Linked DNA regions of Homo sapiens: regions 1 and 3 are each linked to region 2. Evidence: promoter capture Hi-C in human tissues and cell types (Jung and others, 2019). All regions are on one chromosome and are shown on one strand. The core of a region is centred on a gene start or on the middle of the fragment in contact, and the rest is flanking DNA. Distances in the headings are between cores, read along the strand shown.

Region 1 (3,143 bases), core at 442-2,941, 1.1 Mb before region 2:
TTATCAAAGGCATCTGCAGGGTTGGAGACAAAGGCAAGACAGGCAGATGCCCTCGTGCAGCGGACAGCAGGGAACCCTCTCTGCTCTGGGGTCAGCACAGCTGGGTGCTGGGGACACCGAGAACCCTAGCACAGGTAGACTAGGACTACGGCAGTGTATGTTTGGTAGCAACAGTGCCCTCTGCAGCCCTGCAGACCACAGGATGACCCTGTCCTTGCTGTTCTCGGGCTGTGCCACTGCCCAAGCTCTGTGCCCCTGAGATGCCGGAACACAGGGGTTTTCTGATCAGCTCTTCCTGGGAGGTGGGTAGGCTGGGCCTCTGCTTCTCTCTCTTTCTGGGACTAACTGGTTAGACTGCGGCTTTGCAGGCCTTCTTCCCACAAGTCCTTGGGAAAAGGCTGACCATGCCAGCCAGCCAGGGTGGAATCTTCTAGCAGTGGCAGGTGTCTCCCTGCCGCATCTGCCCGTTTACCTGGCCCGGAGCTTCAAGCCACCAGCACTAGTTTACCTACCGCCTCCCACACTGGCCTCTCTGAGGACTTTGCCCCAAAGCACGGGAGGGCACAGTGGGCAGAGGTGTGTGTGGAGGGCCCTAAAGGCCCCAACGTGGGAAGGGAAGATGGGAGGATTTCTCCAGGATCACAGTTGTGGCAGGGCAGGGCAGGGCTCCCCACAGTGCAACAGGCTTCCTGACTGGCTCCAACCACGCTCCTGGGGGGACACTCAGGGCCCAGAGAACTCAGCAAAGTTCCCCTGACTTCACTGTGCAGCCAACTCCACTGCAGGCTGCGTGGCGAGTTGGGGGAACAGCCCAAGCGGGTCTGCATCCATCCAACCTTGGGCCCAAGCGCAGCTGGTTAGCGGCCGCCCAGAATGGGGTCTGCCCTCCCCACATCGTTGGGCTCGCGATTTACCTGGATGGTCAAAATTGTACTGTCCTTTCAAGGCCTTGGCCTTCTGCTCTGCCGTCAGGACCTTGTAGAACCTGTCCTGGCTCAGGATGACCACCTTCCGCTGCCGCTGTTCCACCTCGTTCTGTCCCAGCAACTCCATGATCTTCTCACACACGGTCGACTGGAGACACAGAAGCGGGATTCCCGCCTGGAACCGCTCGTCCTGTGACAGGCACGGGGCCGGCTTCTGGAGACACTGACCCACCCGCCCCCTGGGGGGTATGCTCGGAAGGCGGGAGGACACCAACAGGTGTGGATGGTCTCAGCGGAAGGGCCGCGGGGGCCCAACGGGGTTAGCACGGACTTGGGGCTCCGAGGAGCCCGGCCGGCGGAGAGGCTGTGGGGGAGCCCCGAGGCCCAGCGCCCCAACCCCTCGCCCGCCCCAGCCCGCCCCGGCCCATCGCGGCCTGCAGCCCCTTCGCTCCCGCGCCCTGCCCCTGCCTGGCAGGGGGCCCCTCGGCCGGGGCTGGGGTCTCCTCTCTGGACCGGGCCGCCCGTAGGCACCGGCGAGAGGCGAGACCCCGGCCCGCTCGGCCCCTTACCTTCCCGCTGGCAGTGCCGCCGCTCACCCCTATCAGGAAGGGCCGCTGGTGCGGACGGTCGGCCTCCGGCGCGGGGCTCTCGCAGTCTTCGCCTCCCGCCGAAGCCATCTCGGCCTCCGCTCCCGCGCATCGGGTCCCCGCGCCCGCCCCTTCCCCAGGCCCGGCGCGCCCGCCCAGCGCCGAGGTCGGAGGCAACCGGAGCGATCACTTCCGGGAGGCGCGCGGGGCACGCCGGGAGTTGTAGTCCACCGGGGGGGGGGGGGCCGCGCATGCGTGAGGGTGCAGGGCCCGAGGCCGGCACACCAGGAGCGCCCGCGTCCCATTGCGCCGAAAGCTGGCTGGCAGGGACTGCTGCGCCCGGGCCTCGAGCCGGCTACAAGGTCTCAGACTCAAGTGGCCCGGAAGGTGCCCGTTCCGCACCCCGAGGCTGGGGCTGCGCCTTCGTCCGAGTGCTTGCCTCTGCCTCGCGCTGCCTCTGCGCCAGTCCCGGGCCCTCCCCCGGCCGCCCCCGGGCCTGGCCCCCTCCAGCCCAGGCTCCTCTTGGCCATCGAGGCCTCCGGACTGTCCGGACGCCTCCCACCCCACCCGCTGCTGGAGCCGTCGGGGCGCCCCGGAACGTGGCGGGGGCTGTCGCCTGATGACTTTAGGCTCGCGCCTACAGCGCGCCAAGGAGGCAGAGGCCCATGTGCCGGGTTCCATCCCTGCCGCCCCCCCGCTCCGTGCCTGGCACAGAGAACGTGACAGGCAAATTCTGATCCATTGAAATTATGGATTTCCAGCCGGGCGCGGTGGCTCACGCCTGTAATCCCAACACTTTTGGAGGCTGAGGCGGGTAGATCACGAGGTCAGGAGATCGAGACCATCCTGGCGAACACGGTGAAACCCCGCCTCTACTAAAAATGCAACAAATCAGCTGGGCGTGGTGGCGGGCGCCTGTAATCCCAGCTACTTGGGAGGCTGAGGCAGGAGAATCGCTTGAACCCGGGAGGTGGAGGTTGCAGTGAGCCGAGATGGTGCCACTGCACTCCAGCCTGGGCCACAGAGCAAGACTCCGTCTCAAAAATAAAAAAGAGAGAGAGATAGCTAAGGCTCGGGGCAGAGCATGCTTTTCATATACAAAACAGACAACCCCGGGCGGACGCGGTGGCTCACACCTGTAATCCCAGCACTTTGGGAGGCCGAGGCGGGTGGATCACGAGGTCAGGAGATCGAGACCATCCTGGCTAACATGGTGAAACCCCGTCTCTACTAAAAATACAAAAAATTAGCCGGGCATGGTGGCGGGCGCCTGTGGTCCCAGCTACTCGGGAGGCTGAGGCAGGAGAATGGTGTGAACCCGGGAGGTGGAGCTTGCAGTGAGCCAAGATCACGCTACTGCACTCCGGCCTGGGGGAAAGAGTGAGACTCTGTCTCAAAAAAAAAAAAAAAAAAAAAAAAGACCCCAAGTCTACAGCCCCAGCTACCTCCTTATCTAATTCTCGCCTTTGGAGGCAAGATTCTCCCTGCCCTAAGTCACCCAGGGCCAGGTATCAGGTGACTAGAGACCACTCTGCAGCCCAGAGCCTGCTAGAATTACTCAAACTAGCCAATTTTAAACTCTTTCCCTGCCCTGCCAGGCCTTTTCCATGGAAACCCCAAGAAAGCCTCA
Region 2 (3,318 bases), core at 63-2,562:
CATTCTCCTGCCTCAGCCTCCCGAGTAGCTGGGACTACAGGCGCCCACCACCACGCCCAGCTAATTTTTTGTATTTTTAGTAGAGACGGGGGTTTCATCTTGTTAGCCAGGATGGTCTCGATCTCCTGACCTCGTGATCCGCCTGCCTCGGCCTCCCAAAGTGCTGGGATTACAGGCGTGAGCCACCGCGCCCGGCCGCGGCTTGGTTTTATACATTCTAGAGAGGCATGAGACATCAAATACATTTCAGAAATACACTGGTTTTGTCCAGAAAGGTGGGACAACTCAAAGCGGGGGCTTCCAGGCTATAGGTAAATTTAAACATTTTCTAGTTGACGGTTGAGTTTGTCTAAACACCTGGGATGGATACAAAGAAAATGCTCAGGTTAAGATAAAAGATTGTGGAGACCAAGGTTCTTTTCAAGTCTTTAGTGGCTGCCCTTAGAGACAACAGACAAGTGTTTCCTATTCAGATCTTTGAAAGGTGGTAGACTCTTAATCTCTTTAGGATTGGGAGGGCCTGGAAGAAAAAGATCTAGCTATGTTAATAGAGATTCTTTGCAGATGCAAATGTCCACCCCGCCCGCCCCCCCCAAAGAACAGCTTTGCAAAGCCATTTCAAAATGTGGCAAAGAAACATGTTTAGGGGTAATATTTTAACTTTCTTCTTTGTCACATAATGTTAGGCCAGAGCCAGTTTGGAAAGTAAGTCACGATATATAGGGTTAAATGAAAGCCATCTGATGAGAATTTATGGTTTGTAGGGCATGACTCTTCCCAGACAGGAATGTGGGCAAGATAAAAAAAAAAATCAGAGCTTAGTCCGCACTCAGTCGAGGAAACTGGCTTAGAGAAGTTAAGCTTTGGCCTGGGACTTGCGCCGGAACTTCAGGTCCTACCTTCCACGGGAAACAGCCTCTAATTCCTTCCTTTACTTTTCTAGGCGCAGGAGCCAGCTCCCCGCCCCTCCACACCGCTCCACTCCCCGCTTCCAGGCGCATCCCTGCGGGTGGTGTTCCGGTTAGAGACACGTGTTTCGGCGCAACTTGTCCCGAAGCTGCCCGGTGTCTTTCTCCCGCTTAACTCCGTGAATGACTCGAAACCCGACTCCAAGGCACGGCTGCAGCTCGCGGCGCGCCCACAGCCGGGCCGCGGGTGGGGACGGAGCTGAAGCCGGGTCAGAACTCACCCGACTCGCCTGGGCTGGGGGACGTCTGGAGAACGTCCTGGGGTTGTCGAAGAGCGAACCGTCGGCGGCTGCCATGGTCTGCGTGGGTGACGCGTGGTGCAGCAGCGAGCCCGGTGCGCAGACTGCTGGGCCCGGGACCCCACGTGGGACGCGCGAGGACCCTGCGCCACCGCCCCTTCCGGGTCCGGAACGGCTCCAGCTGTACGGACTCGTCCCGAGGGGAGCCGGGGACGGCGGCACCGGGCGGGTAGGGACAAGACTACCGCGCGTGCCCCCGCCTGGTGGCAGCCCCTCTCTGCGTCCCTCGCGGCCTGGCAAAATTACATTCGGCCGAGAGTTCACGCTGGGGAAGCTCTCTGAATGCCTCTGAGAAGCGAGATCCGGCGCCATCTCACCGACGAGCCTCCCCTTTACCGCCCCGTGCGTTTCCTCAGCACTTTAGGAACTAAAGCCTGTCTGGGTAGCTCCCTAACAGGCTCTGGAGCTCAATCCCTGGGCAGGGAAAAGGGGGTCCTCGGGGCTCCCCGCTCGCTGTCCTTTTTCTGGACAGGCAGTTCCTTGGCCACCTGGTAGGGCCGCGTTGCCTGGCAACGGCGGGGTCCTTCTTGGCTCGGCGGCGCTCGGGGCCTGAGGGGAGAAAACCGCCGCGGAGGGCGCTGGGGGTGGCGGCGGCGGTCCGGGAGGTGGTCGCGCGACTGCGTGGAGCGCCAGGGCGTCCGACCTCTGCACCTGAGAGAAGATGAACACGGCCGACCAGGCCCGGGTGGGGCCCGCGGACGACGGGCCTGCGCCGTCTGGGGAGGAGGAGGGAGAGGGGGGCGGCGAGGCGGGCGGGAAGGAGCCAGCAGCGGACGCGGCCCCGGGGCCCAGCGCTGCATTCCGCCTCATGGTGACTCGGCGGGAGCCGGCCGTGAAGCTGCAGTATGCGGTGAGCGGCCTGGAACCGCTGGCTTGGTCCGAGGACCACCGCGTGTCTGTGTCCACGGCCCGCAGCATCGCTGTGCTGGAGCTCATCTGCGACGTGCACAACCCGGGCCAGGACCTGGTTATCCACCGCACCTCGGTGCCCGCACCGCTCAACAGCTGTCTCCTCAAAGTAAGTCATCCCCCGCCATCCCTGGGGTCTTCCCCTGTCCCCCTCTCGCGGCCGCATCATCCGTCCCAGGGGAATCCGATCCCACACTCTGTCCGGGGATTTCCCTCTTCGCACCGAGCGCTGGGGATTTATTAAGCAGCCAGGGTTACCACAGCTTAAAAAAAAAAAAAGAAAAGCTCTGCAGCTGTCTGCACCCTGTTTCCCCAGGTCACCCGCCGCCGCAAACACAGGTACACACCCAGGGGGCTTCCCGGAGTTGAGTCCCAGGAACCCCTCCTTCGCCCCTCCGTCGGGCCCGCACATGGAGCGGGTTACTCGATGGTGCTTTCTGAGACTCCACCCCCTGTAGATCCAACCCGGGGCCTGCCTCTGTCGTTGCTGCTATTGTTTGGGGCCGACTTTCCGAGGTTCTTGGCTGGCTTTGTCTACTGTGTGTGTCCTCCTCTCGCGCCTCTTTAGCTTCAGAAAAGAAAAACTGGTCCCATCCATTGTCTTAATTGTTTCAGTGACTTTATTATGAATGGTCCTCGCCTCTCCTTGGGCAAACGGGTAAATACTGGATCTCGGGGTTTGTACTTTAGTTTTTCTTTACTAGCTAAACATCTTTGGGATGTTGAATGAAAATAAAGATTCGAAACAACTACCTATCTTAAACTTCAAGCGCAAGGTCAAGTAGTAAGCCATAGCGTTCCTTTTAGTTGCTTAGAGGTGTAAAAACTTTCCATATATCCTTGATAGAGGTGTACGCTTACATGTGAACTGTCAGTGTATATTCATACATTCAATAGATATTTGAATACCATTCTGCTTGGTGCTGCCCCATGTTCTGGAAATAAAGCAGTGTACAAAACAGAACCCCTGCCCTCATGAAGCTTACATTCTTTGGCAAGTCAAGCACAAATGATAAGGTCCTGTCAGGTAGTGATAAGCACTGTAAAGATGTGTATCCGCACATAGAGAACATGTTTATGTGTTCGTAAACTCTTATTTTGGAAAACCATTGAAAATATGAGTCATTAGCTATAGGTAGGGT
Region 3 (2,867 bases), core at 39-2,538, 1.1 Mb before region 2:
CATGGAAAAAGGATTAGGGATGGGCTCTGTGTTGCCTTAGCAAGAAAGCAGGAAAGATCTTTTTCTTCCTTTCTTTTTTTGAGACAGGGTCTCGCTCTGTCACCCAGGTTGGAGTGCAGTGATGCGGTCTTGGCTCACTGTAGCCTCAACCTCCTGGGTTCAACTGATTCTCCTGCCTCAGCCTCTCAAATAGGGGGGAATATAGGCATGTGTCGCCAGGTACAACTGATTTTTTGGATTTTGTAGAGATAGCGTTTTGCTGTGTTGCTCAGGCTGGTCTTGAACTCCTGGGCTCAAGTGATCCTCCTACCTCAGCCTCCCAAAGTGCTGTGATTATAGGCGTGAGCCATCGTGCCCAGCAGGAAAGCAGATCTTTAAAGGAACAATTCTGAGTCCTCAATATAACAGCCACTCCACTTAATTCCTCTGCTGATCAGGAAGAGCGCGTGCCAGAGGAGGCTGTCTGCTCATCAGCGGCTGAGGGTTAGGGACACAGGCTGAGGAACCTTGATCAGAATGGTTGCTCCACAGTGACTTGAGCTCCAAGCCCTGGAGAATTGTCAGCTCCACCAGTTACAGCGAAATGTGGTCATGTAAATGAATGGATTCACTGGCATGGTGAAGTGTTTGGGAAGAGAAGTTGCCAGAAATTGGTCATTACTGCATAATCTTGGCTCAAGTAAGGCTTATGACTTCAGAGTTTTTGGATGCTACTTAGCAAAACAGATAAGCTATTGGACAGCTGGTTTTCGGGCTTAAATTTTTATCCCTCATTTGTGAGAAAACACATTCAGGGGAAGCTGCTTTTCTAGTGTGGTCTGGGCTTCCTTCCTCAGCGGAGAATCAATGGGAGCCACAGCTCAGCACTGGCGCTGGGCTCAGAGCACATATGTCCTTCAACTAGGGGACTGTGAGCCTCAAAGTGTGGGCCCTAATTTATCTATTCTGGAAGGAAATTGAGCTTTTCACTGATGATGACACCCACGTGATTGTCTGGGGAGAAAAGCTTATCTGATTTGATTCTTATAGAGATGGGGTATGACCACTCCCAGGACACCCTCCTGCCCCAGGAAAGGTGCTTGGTAACACTCCTTGTTACTCCATTTGGCAAACTATTAGGGATACCTCTGGCTTTGTCTTCTCTTTCCTTACGGTCCCAATTAACTACTGGTTTACACAGTAGGGTCTACCTTAGGCCCAGGGGCAACTCCTTTTCCTTGATGCCCTTGTGTTAATTTAAAACAATAACTATACCTTACATAATGTCAAAAGATGAGTTCCAAAGCCAAGTGGTAGGTTCTGAGGCCAATGCCACATGCACATGAACTGAGATCTGCCACTGACCGTTTTGTCTTTGATCCTGGTAAGAAGGCAGTCCTGTGGGCCACACTGTGTGAATGACAAGATGGCATTCTTCTCACCAAAGAAAGGCAACATTAGCATTATGTTGGGTCCAAAAAATATCTTCTCCCTTTTCAAATAAACTCCTTAGTGGAGCTTATTTTTAAAAACCACCTGAATATCCTAAGAAAAAAGGATGTAAAAGAACAAAAATGCGTTGCTTGGGAGAAGATGGGTGAATGCAAAAGTTCCTTATTAAGTTCCTTCTCATGTGATGTATTTTTGCAACTGGAATCACAATATCTCCACTGAAAATACTACGTTTTGGCCAATGGCTTCATGGCAAATTAACTCTTGCAAAACCTCCAATACATTCTAGGATGCTCTGTAATTCACTAAGTGTTGATCTGAATAACATCAACCCTTTATAGAAAGATTTAGTACAGACTGAAAAATGATTCAAATTCAGTTCTAGAAGTCTGACAACTATTTTTACTCAGTTTGCATTTCAACAGCCTGACAGGGGCTCTAATTTATACTTATTCTTAGAACTCTATTTAGAGCCTGTAGCTACACTTTGTAACATGTCAGAACATGAAGGAGAAATACACGCCTCTCAACGTCCAGCCTACACACTTTTCTTTTGACCCAGCCTTACGAGATCTCAAAATTTATTTGGCAATTAAGCAGTTCAAAAATGGGCAATTAAGCAGTTCAAAAATGTTAATCTAACGCTGTATTTTTCATGATAGGGTTCTGGATTCCAACCCTGGCTCTAGCTTAACTTGGAACAAATGGCTCAGCTTCTCTCTCCTGGCTTCTCCATCTCTAGAACTGCAGTGAACCATTTGATCACAGAATAGGAAGGAAGGCCCTCGATAGGGAAACAGTAGCCTGACGTGGAAGTAAAGGCGAGAGGCACTGGACGTGGAACTGGCCCTCAGGATGCGTGTCAGTGCACGACCTTTACAAGGAATGGGGATCCTGTGGGTACCAGCCTTCCAAGAAGGTTTGTGTCTATTTCCTATAACTTTATCTTAAAACTTCTCCTCTGTAATTTTCCCCACCACCCTGACTGAACTCCCACATGACAGTTTGCCTGTCATGGATGGAGTCAGAAGTACAACCACGGCCAGGTGCTACAGTGACACTACTGTGCCTGAAGCTGGTCAAGGGGCACCGATCAGCCAAAATGCCAGGCTGTAAACAATAAAGATTCTCAAAGTCTACAACCAGGGGTTGGAAACAGCTGCATCAGAGTGGTTGCTTTTGAAAGCCCCCAATGCGAGGCACTCTCAGCTCTGTTCCTGCTGTCAAGGCTGTGACCAGTCCTGCTGCTGAGATGGGCATACTCCCTACTGCCCACAGTAAGGCAAGGCAGGCTCGCTCCTGGGCTCAGGAGGTAACGCCGTCTCCTCCAGAGCTGGGCCTTTCTCTATAGGTGGCTCTACGTTATCCCGAGGGTCGCAGTGACCTGGAAGGGGCTCTGGTCTGCATGTACCTCCTTCCACAAGACCAGGTCAAGC

The links. Contacts are between HindIII fragments. The study calls those that stand out against the background at their distance.
Region 1: the fragment with the promoter of UCK1 here is called in contact with the fragment with the promoter of DDX31 in region 2 in 1 of the 25 tissues and cell types used here (dorsolateral prefrontal cortex).
Region 3: a fragment that was not itself captured here is called in contact with the fragment with the promoter of DDX31 in region 2 in 1 of the 25 tissues and cell types used here (dorsolateral prefrontal cortex).

The regions. Positions count from the first base shown.
Region 1 is chr9:131,529,572-131,532,714 of GRCh38, forward strand. UCK1 (uridine-cytidine kinase 1) reads right to left here and starts at 1,692. Exons shown (of 7, transcript NM_031432.5): 1 at 1,496-1,692; 2 at 915-1,074; 3 at 1-13. The coding sequence starts at 1,603. RefSeq lists enhancers at 1-143, 849-1,762 and silencers at 1,178-1,227, 1,428-1,787, 1,928-2,097. The HindIII fragment of the contact is 11,870 bases long and covers 1-3,143 here.
Region 2 is chr9:132,668,671-132,671,988 of GRCh38, forward strand. DDX31 (DEAD-box helicase 31) reads right to left here and starts at 1,313. Exons shown (of 20, transcript NM_022779.9): 1 at 1,190-1,313. The coding sequence starts at 1,264. It overlaps GTF3C4 (general transcription factor IIIC subunit 4), which reads left to right and starts at 1,794. Exons shown (of 5, transcript NM_012204.4): 1 at 1,794-2,285. The coding sequence starts at 1,929. RefSeq lists enhancers at 1,170-2,037, 1,723-1,802 and silencers at 1,383-1,532, 1,953-2,082. The HindIII fragment of the contact is 5,477 bases long and covers 1-3,318 here.
Region 3 is chr9:131,609,835-131,612,701 of GRCh38, forward strand. All of the region lies in intron 12 of RAPGEF1 (Rap guanine nucleotide exchange factor 1), which reads right to left. Among named protein-coding and RNA genes, the nearest start is that of PRRT1B, 66 kb to the left of the region's middle. The HindIII fragment of the contact is 6,269 bases long and covers 1-2,867 here.